Regions from separate parts of the Homo sapiens genome. Here region 2 is linked to region 1. The links are contacts of gene promoters, found by promoter capture Hi-C in human tissues and cell types (Jung and others, 2019). All regions are on one chromosome and are shown on one strand. The core of a region is centred on a gene start or on the middle of the fragment in contact, and the rest is flanking DNA. Distances in the headings are between cores, read along the strand shown.

What was found. Contacts are between HindIII fragments. The study calls those that stand out against the background at their distance.
Region 2: a contact is called between a fragment that was not itself captured here and the fragment with the promoter of LUZP2 in region 1, in 2 of the 25 tissues and cell types used here (hippocampus and small bowel).

Annotation. Positions count from the first base shown.
Region 1 is chr11:24,494,946-24,498,701 of GRCh38, forward strand. LUZP2 (leucine zipper protein 2) reads left to right here and starts at 2,108. Exons shown (of 12, transcript NM_001009909.4): 1 at 2,108-2,360. The coding sequence starts at 2,299. The HindIII fragment of the contact is 10,753 bases long and covers 1-3,756 here.
Region 2 is chr11:24,599,464-24,603,219 of GRCh38, forward strand. The region is part of intron 1 of LUZP2 (leucine zipper protein 2); the gene reads left to right. Among named protein-coding and RNA genes, the nearest start is that of LUZP2, 100 kb to the left of the region's middle. The HindIII fragment of the contact is 3,577 bases long and covers 1-3,543 here.

The sequences.
Region 1 (3,756 bases), core at 858-3,357:
TACTCTGAAACTGTCACCTTAACTGGAAAAGAGAAAAATACTAGAAATAACTACCACATTTGGTTTCTATGATTAGGACGTAAGATAATGGATGCAAAGTTGTTATATAAAAAATGTATTCTACAAATATGAGTGTTATTTCCTGGTGCACACATTAAAAAAATTGCCAAGTAGCCTTATGTCTTTGTTGAGTATACAACTCAAGTAATCTCCTTCAAAGTGAGCAGGGAATCTATGTTAGAAAACCCTGGCAGGAGCAAACCAGAGTTTTTATTTTACTTGGAATCAGAGTTCTGTTTTAGAAAAGTGTGGTGTCGTTTTTTTCTCTTAAATGATATGCAATTCACATGTTAGTTTATTTGTATATGCCTACTTATTAGGCATATACAAGATCGATAATGTTGTGGATCTTATTATTATTGCCCAAGGGGCTAATATTCACTTTTCAAAACTTATTACTCATCTAGTTCAGCAGCTCAAGATTTTGAAGCAAATCTGTTTTACATACATGTCTTAACCTTCAATCCCATTTAAAAAAAATAGTAAATTAGATGGTTAACCTTTTAGATTTGCATCCTCTTTAAAATAAAGCTTTACAGCAAATGCATTTTTCCTACAAATGTCTTCGAAAATGAGATTGAAGAGGATGTATCATCTAAATTTTTCTGTAAAGAGCTTGCCCCCGAAATAATTGGAACATGAACTGAAACCTCTAGATAGGAATTCCTGGACACAGCTGTCCATTATCTTTCGGGACTTTGGTGCACCTCACCCTTTACTGAACACAACTTTGTGTCAAACACTGGGCTAGGAGTGCTAGTTGTGATGTTTGAGGCAACAGTGGAATTTTTCTTAGGACTTAGTAGAACCAGTTCTTTTTTTTAATATGCATAGTCAGATTTTGATGATATTCAGTCTGCTCATATCTATAATAGTGATATTAACGTCTATTTCACTAGGATGGCTCTTGTGAAGATTAAATTAAATACTGTATGAAGAAGTGCCTTATACACAGTTATATAACCAGGATAATATCCAGATGGAATTCTCATTCTCTCTCTCTCTCTCTCTCTCACTCTCACTCACACACACACACACACACACACACACACACACACACATGCAATATCATCTTATAAATATCCTAGAATTGAATATCTCAGTAGCAGAGATAGTAGTTCTGTTTCTCAGAATTGCTTTTGCAAAATGGTGTTTTGGATTATAATTGTGCTATTTAATTTTTCTAATTAAAATTTCTAAATAGAGCCTATTAAATATTGGATGCTTATGATAGAACATTTGAAAATATAGAAAACCAAATGACCTACAAAACCTCTACCTTCCAGTACCATCATTCCGAGCTGATTACTGTTAACATTTTAATGGTTTTTGTCCGCTAGGTCTCCTTGATGAGTTTCACCTGAGGAAAAGGACTCCTTCAGGTGTGTGAACTTGAGCCACCAGGTCCAACCCCATTGGCAGGTGCTGGTACAGACGACTGAAATCAGAGGAAGATCAGAAATCTTCAAAACCCAGAGCAGCAGATGTCTTAACGGTCCCGAAACGTTCTTTGGTTCTTTGCAGTCAACATTCACGGGTTAAGAAGATTGCAATGCCATGACGGGCTGAGGTTGCATTTCTGGACGCTGCTTACTCCCGCTTCCTTCCATCTGTTTCAGGCAAATCATTATGCAGTTCTAATTAGAACAATCTTCTAAACACTCTCTCCAGAGCGACGTTCTTCCAAACACGGTTTAAGCGGCGAGAGACACCTGCCTAGGACCCTACGCGTCTGGAAGTCTCTCCCAGTGAATTGGGTCTCATCTCCTGCCGAGTACGCAAGTTCAATTATCGGCAGATTAGGTTTCTACTCTCCGTGCCCCGCCCCGCGCCATCCTGGGGAGCAGCGGGAATAAATGATCCGCCCCTGGCCAGTGCTCACCCGACTGACCAGAGCGCAGCCCGGTGACCGAAGCGCACGGGGCGATCGCGAGGCGCCCCCTCCCTCTCCCCGCGCCGCCTCCAGCGCGAGTGACGGCGCGCCCTCCGGGCTCCGGAGCGGCGGCGCCGAACAATCCCCGGCAGGGCTCGCCTCGCCGGTGACATCACTCCTGAAGATACTCCTCGCTCCCAGCGCCTGCCTTCCCCAGGCGTCCGTTCGTGTGCCCGTCTCCGCCTTTCCGCCTCGGAAGAGCGCTCATCACTGGCTGGGGACAGAGCCGGGCACCAAGGAGCGACAGGATCCCGAAGAGAGAGAGAGAAGGCAGCGAGGGAAGGAGGACCCCGGCAGGCAGCAGCATGAAATTCAGCCCAGCGCACTACCTGCTGCCTCTCCTGCCTGCGCTGGTCCTCAGCACCAGGTGAGTCCAGGAGCGTGAGTGACCTGAGGCCAGGGGCGCTGCCGGGGCGAGGTTGGTCCTACTGTGGGTCACCAGTGGGGGCCAAGGCACTTCAGCTGTTTGCATCTCCCGCCTAAGCAAGAGGGACGCTGTATGGTTTGGGCTCTGAAATCCTTCTGAGAGAGCAGAGCCCTTTCCTAGTTATCCCAGCCCCCTGGAGAAAGTCTTAGGATTGCTCTCAGTGAGGGATCAAAAGCTTTCTCTTCCGAAGGAGAGAAAAGACATTTTACCCTCCGGTCCTATTAGTAGCCAAAAGGTAACACGCGGTAAAAGAACAAAATAAAGAACGGAAATAGGCAAGGAGGGAATTGCCACCAGGCAGTGTCTTTACATTGGAGTTGTCTTAATAACCATAGAGCTTCTCCCTTCCCCCAAGTGTGCCTGATTTAAGGAAGAGGAAACCAGAGAAAACAGATTAATCCTGGAAGATGCTAAGACTTGTACAAAAGTTCCTGGACTCCTGAAATGGCATGTTTCAACGTCTTGGATAAGCTTAGTGATAGGCGTTTTCTTTTGACTGTCTTGTGAACAGGTCTAATTAAAGAGCACAGAAGGCGATTAAAAGTTAGAAGACACTCTCAGAGTGCTGATGCAGAGACCCTAGTCAGAAACAATTAAGTACTGTACTCCATCACTGGCCATGGATGGGACTTTAAGCCCCATTACAGAGGAGCTATTTTTGGTGGAGATTTAAAATGCAGAGATTGAGAAGAGTTTTGTGACTCCCCACTGTTGATCAAGTCCCAAAGTTGTGATGGGTTTGCTTTTTTCTTCCACAAGCGCAGCACAAAGGTGGACTGTTTAGTTGCCCAGGACTGTCTTTATTCTGCATGCCCTTAGCATCATATTGGCAGCAACCTCTTTCCCTTGGCTACTATAAAATAAAATAACCCACACAGGATGAAGATCCTTTCAAGTCTACGTGAATAGAAACATTATTTGATTGTGCATCTGATGGCAAATAAAGTAGGGATATAGGGTTGTTTCTAATTCTGAAATGGAAAAGGATGAAGAAAACTTACTCTGTCTTACAAATCAAGGCTGTAAAATTCTTGATTCCGTTCCTAATCTACACACCTTCTTTCAGGCCTGTGTAACCAAACTTTCCTTTTAGTGTAGAGACTATTTCATTTACCCTCAATAATTGATAAATTTAGTCTTTCCTTGCAAACAAAGCCCAGGTGACTTTCCCAGATTAAAATGAAATGTAAGTTTGATTCTTCATTTTCTGTAAGGTTTGCTTGTCACTTCAGCTCATAAAGTGCAGATGGTTTTAAAGAAAACCAGTTTGCTTCCCAGTATTATAATTAGTTGCTCTAAATACAGAGCCCATTTTAATATTTGTGGTTAGCTCTCA
Region 2 (3,756 bases), core at 505-3,004, 100 kb after region 1:
TATTTGCAATTGACAACCCTTGTATGTATCCTCCACATCTCCACCTATTTCCTAGTCATTGTTCTGCCACAGTATCTTCCTCAATTCAAATATAGCAAGCATAGATAATCAATCACACCTGTCCAAACTAAGCAGCTAATGATCAATTGACCTTACTCACATCTGTAGTATTTTGGTTGTTATTTTGTTTATTGTCTTTTCTTTCTCCTCAGTTACCATATTTCACAGTTTTTTTCTGTGTTGCCTTTAAAATACAGAAACATCTGAGAGTCTCATCGAATAGCTGAGATATACTGAGATATTTGTTAATATATTCTTACTATTTTGGTGAAACTACTAAATTTGAAAAGTACGTAAAAAAAACAAGATTTTCCTCATTCATATGGCTTGTGTAACATTGCAATTTTTCACGACTCAAAGTTCTTTGCATCTTATTTTCACACATAAGCATGGGTTACATTTTGTTGATGGGGAACACATTTCAGTGCTCTTCTTTGTTTTCAAGTAAACTCATATTATTAAAAACAGCAGCTATAAAATATTCTCCATAAAAGATATGTTGAATTCCTAACACCTGGTACCTGTGAATGTGACCTTACTTGAAAATAGGGTCTTCATGTAAATTAAGATGGGTCCTACTGAAGTAAAGTGGGCTCTTAATCCAATGACTGGTGTCTTTATTAAACAAGAGGATATATAATGTAGATTACAACACACACACACACACACACACACACACACACACACACACACACGCACAATGGGGTAACATCATGTGAAGTCACAGACACACAGAAGGAAGAAAGCCCTGTTGCAGCTTAGGCCGAGATCAGGATTATACAGCTGCAAGATGAGAAACACCAAGGAATGCTGGCCACCACCACAAGTTAGGAGAGAGAGCTTGATTTCAGATTTCCAGCCTCCAGAACTTTGAGAGAATACATTTCTGTTGTTTTAAGCCACCGAATTTGTGGTGCTTTATTATGAAGCAATAGGAAACTAACAGAGGGGGAATGGAAATTTACAGGTTAAAAAAGTTTCGCTGCCATTTCTGGTTATTTCATAGAGAGGAAAGCTTGTAACTCAGAGACACCCTAGTTCAAATTCTAGTAATTTCACTTGGAAGCTTTGTATTTTTCCGCAAATTATCAAACTCTAACTAAAACTTAGCTCACTTCTGTTCATAAAGATCGTGATTGCTTCCTACCATTTTTAATATTAAGTAAGATTATGTGTCTTAAAGGCCTAGTGCTTTATCTAGGCCTAAGGAAAGGTAGTATAAACGTAAGCACAGGAAAAAAGAGAAGGATGTGCTCATGGTATGCATTTGCATTACCTATTATAGCTGTTTAAAAAGAAGGTAGACACGCTAGACTCAATAAAAAACAAAAACAAAAAGTAAAATTACTGTGGTTATACAATGTCGTTGGCAGGATTTTCACCATGGTGTTACTCATATGAATATGTTACCTGAAAATAGCAAAACAGACTTCACAAATGTAATTAAGAGTACTAATCAGTTCAGTTTAAAAGAAAGATATTATTTAGATGATCTGATTGAACCCAATCTAATCAAATAAACCTTTCTCTTAGATGAAAAGCAGACCTTTTCCTTAGGTGAAGACATAAAGGGAAGTCAGAAAGACTTAAAGTGTGAGAAAAAGTGAATATGTCATTGCTGACTTGAAGATGGAGGGGTACAAATATCAAAGACATGGAGATCTCAGTTCTACAAACTTGAGATGCCAAATTCTACCCACAAATGGAATGAATTTGGAAATATATCCTTCTCAAACTACTCTTATTAATTTATTATTGTTTATATTTTGAGGCCCTATACAGAAATGTCAGCTGTGTGGTACTCAATTTCTGATCTATAGAATTGTAGATAACAAATGTATGTTGTTAAAAGCCACTAAATTGGTGGAGTTAACAATTTTTTTAGGCAGAATTAGAAAACTAATGCATATAACTATGTAAAGATAGAATAAAGATGATAGTTCTGATTCTCTTTATTGGTTTCTTTTTACTTTACCAGCTTTCTTAATAGATTACATCCACATTTTGAGTTGACTTAAACAAATACATTTCTAATGAAGTTGAATAAGAAAAGTCATGCATTATTTTATCGGGTAGCCTATCCAAATTAATTTGAATTTTCTCTGCCCAATATATTTTATGGAAACACTATTTTAAATTTTAAATTGTTTCAATGGATAATATGAGAAAAAATTAAATAAATTCCATTTACTGCTAGCATTTACCAGCAACCAAGACACAATACCTCAGAATCTCTTAGAATTTCTGACTTAACCAAGTATATTAATTCTTATCCATGGCAGCAATACAAGACTGTTTAGATATAGTTTATCACAAATAAACAGGTATATATATATATATGTGTATATGTATACATGTATATATGTATATATGTATATATGTATATATGTATATATGTATATATATGTATATATGTATATATGTATAAATGTATATATGTATATATGTGTATATGTATATATATGTGTATATATGTATATATATGTATATATGTATATATGTGTATATATGTATATCTGTATATATGTGTATATATGTGTATATATATGCGTATATATGTGTATATATGTATATATGTGTATATGTGTATATATGTATATATGTATATGTGTATATATGTATATATGTATATATGTATATATGTGTATATATATGTGTATATATGTATATATGTACATATATGTGTATATATGTATATATGTACATATATGTGTATATATGTATATATATGCAAACATATATGTACATACATATATACACACATATATATGTACATACATATATACACACATATATACACACACATATATATACATATATATGTATAAATCTCTTTTAAAGTGTGTGTGTGTATATATATATATACACACACACACACACACACACACACACATACATCCCTATAAATATGGGGAAAATAAATAAATGCACTATGGGCACATGTGATCTTTAATAAAGTTAAAATTGGACCTAATCTGAATAAATTAAAATGCTAAGTGAGCATTTTCCTATTAGAAGATTTAGACTCAGAATTTTGAAAGGGGATTTTTGTCTCACAAATGCTTTATTTCAGATATCATGTGTTGAATTTTGAGAGTGACAATTTCATTCCCCTAACCTAGAATCAAGTAAAAAATATAAGCAGAAAATGCAAATATCAACTCATTTCTATTATTATTATATTATTATTGAAAACGCCAAACTGAAAAGCACCTTGGATGTATGGGCACAATCAGGTTCTTTTTCATTTCCTCTGTTTTCAAGCTTGCTCACCAATATGGCTTCCCATTTGATAACTTTTTTCTTTATTCCTGGAGGGAAGAAGTACAGTGAGATTAAGGGAAGGTGGAAGTCTATTACTGTTATTTCACAAAGAACGAAAATTACTATTATATGGCAGAATAACTATCTAGGGTAGAACAATGTAAATGTTTATATTAAAATCTTTAACATTGGCAGAATATCTAAGTTTCATAATGTACACATGTTACTGTGATTTCCAAATTTCTAAAGTAAAATGTAGTTATTATCTATTTTTGTATAGCTTCTATACGGCTATGGCACATTCAGGTCCCAACAGTCTATAACAAGCAGTATATTTGGTTTCAAATGGTATGACAGGTAGCTTCTTTTAGGAAAAAACAAGGTCCTGAGAATTAATGTGAAACCCCAAGATGAGGATGAAGTGGAGAGGCT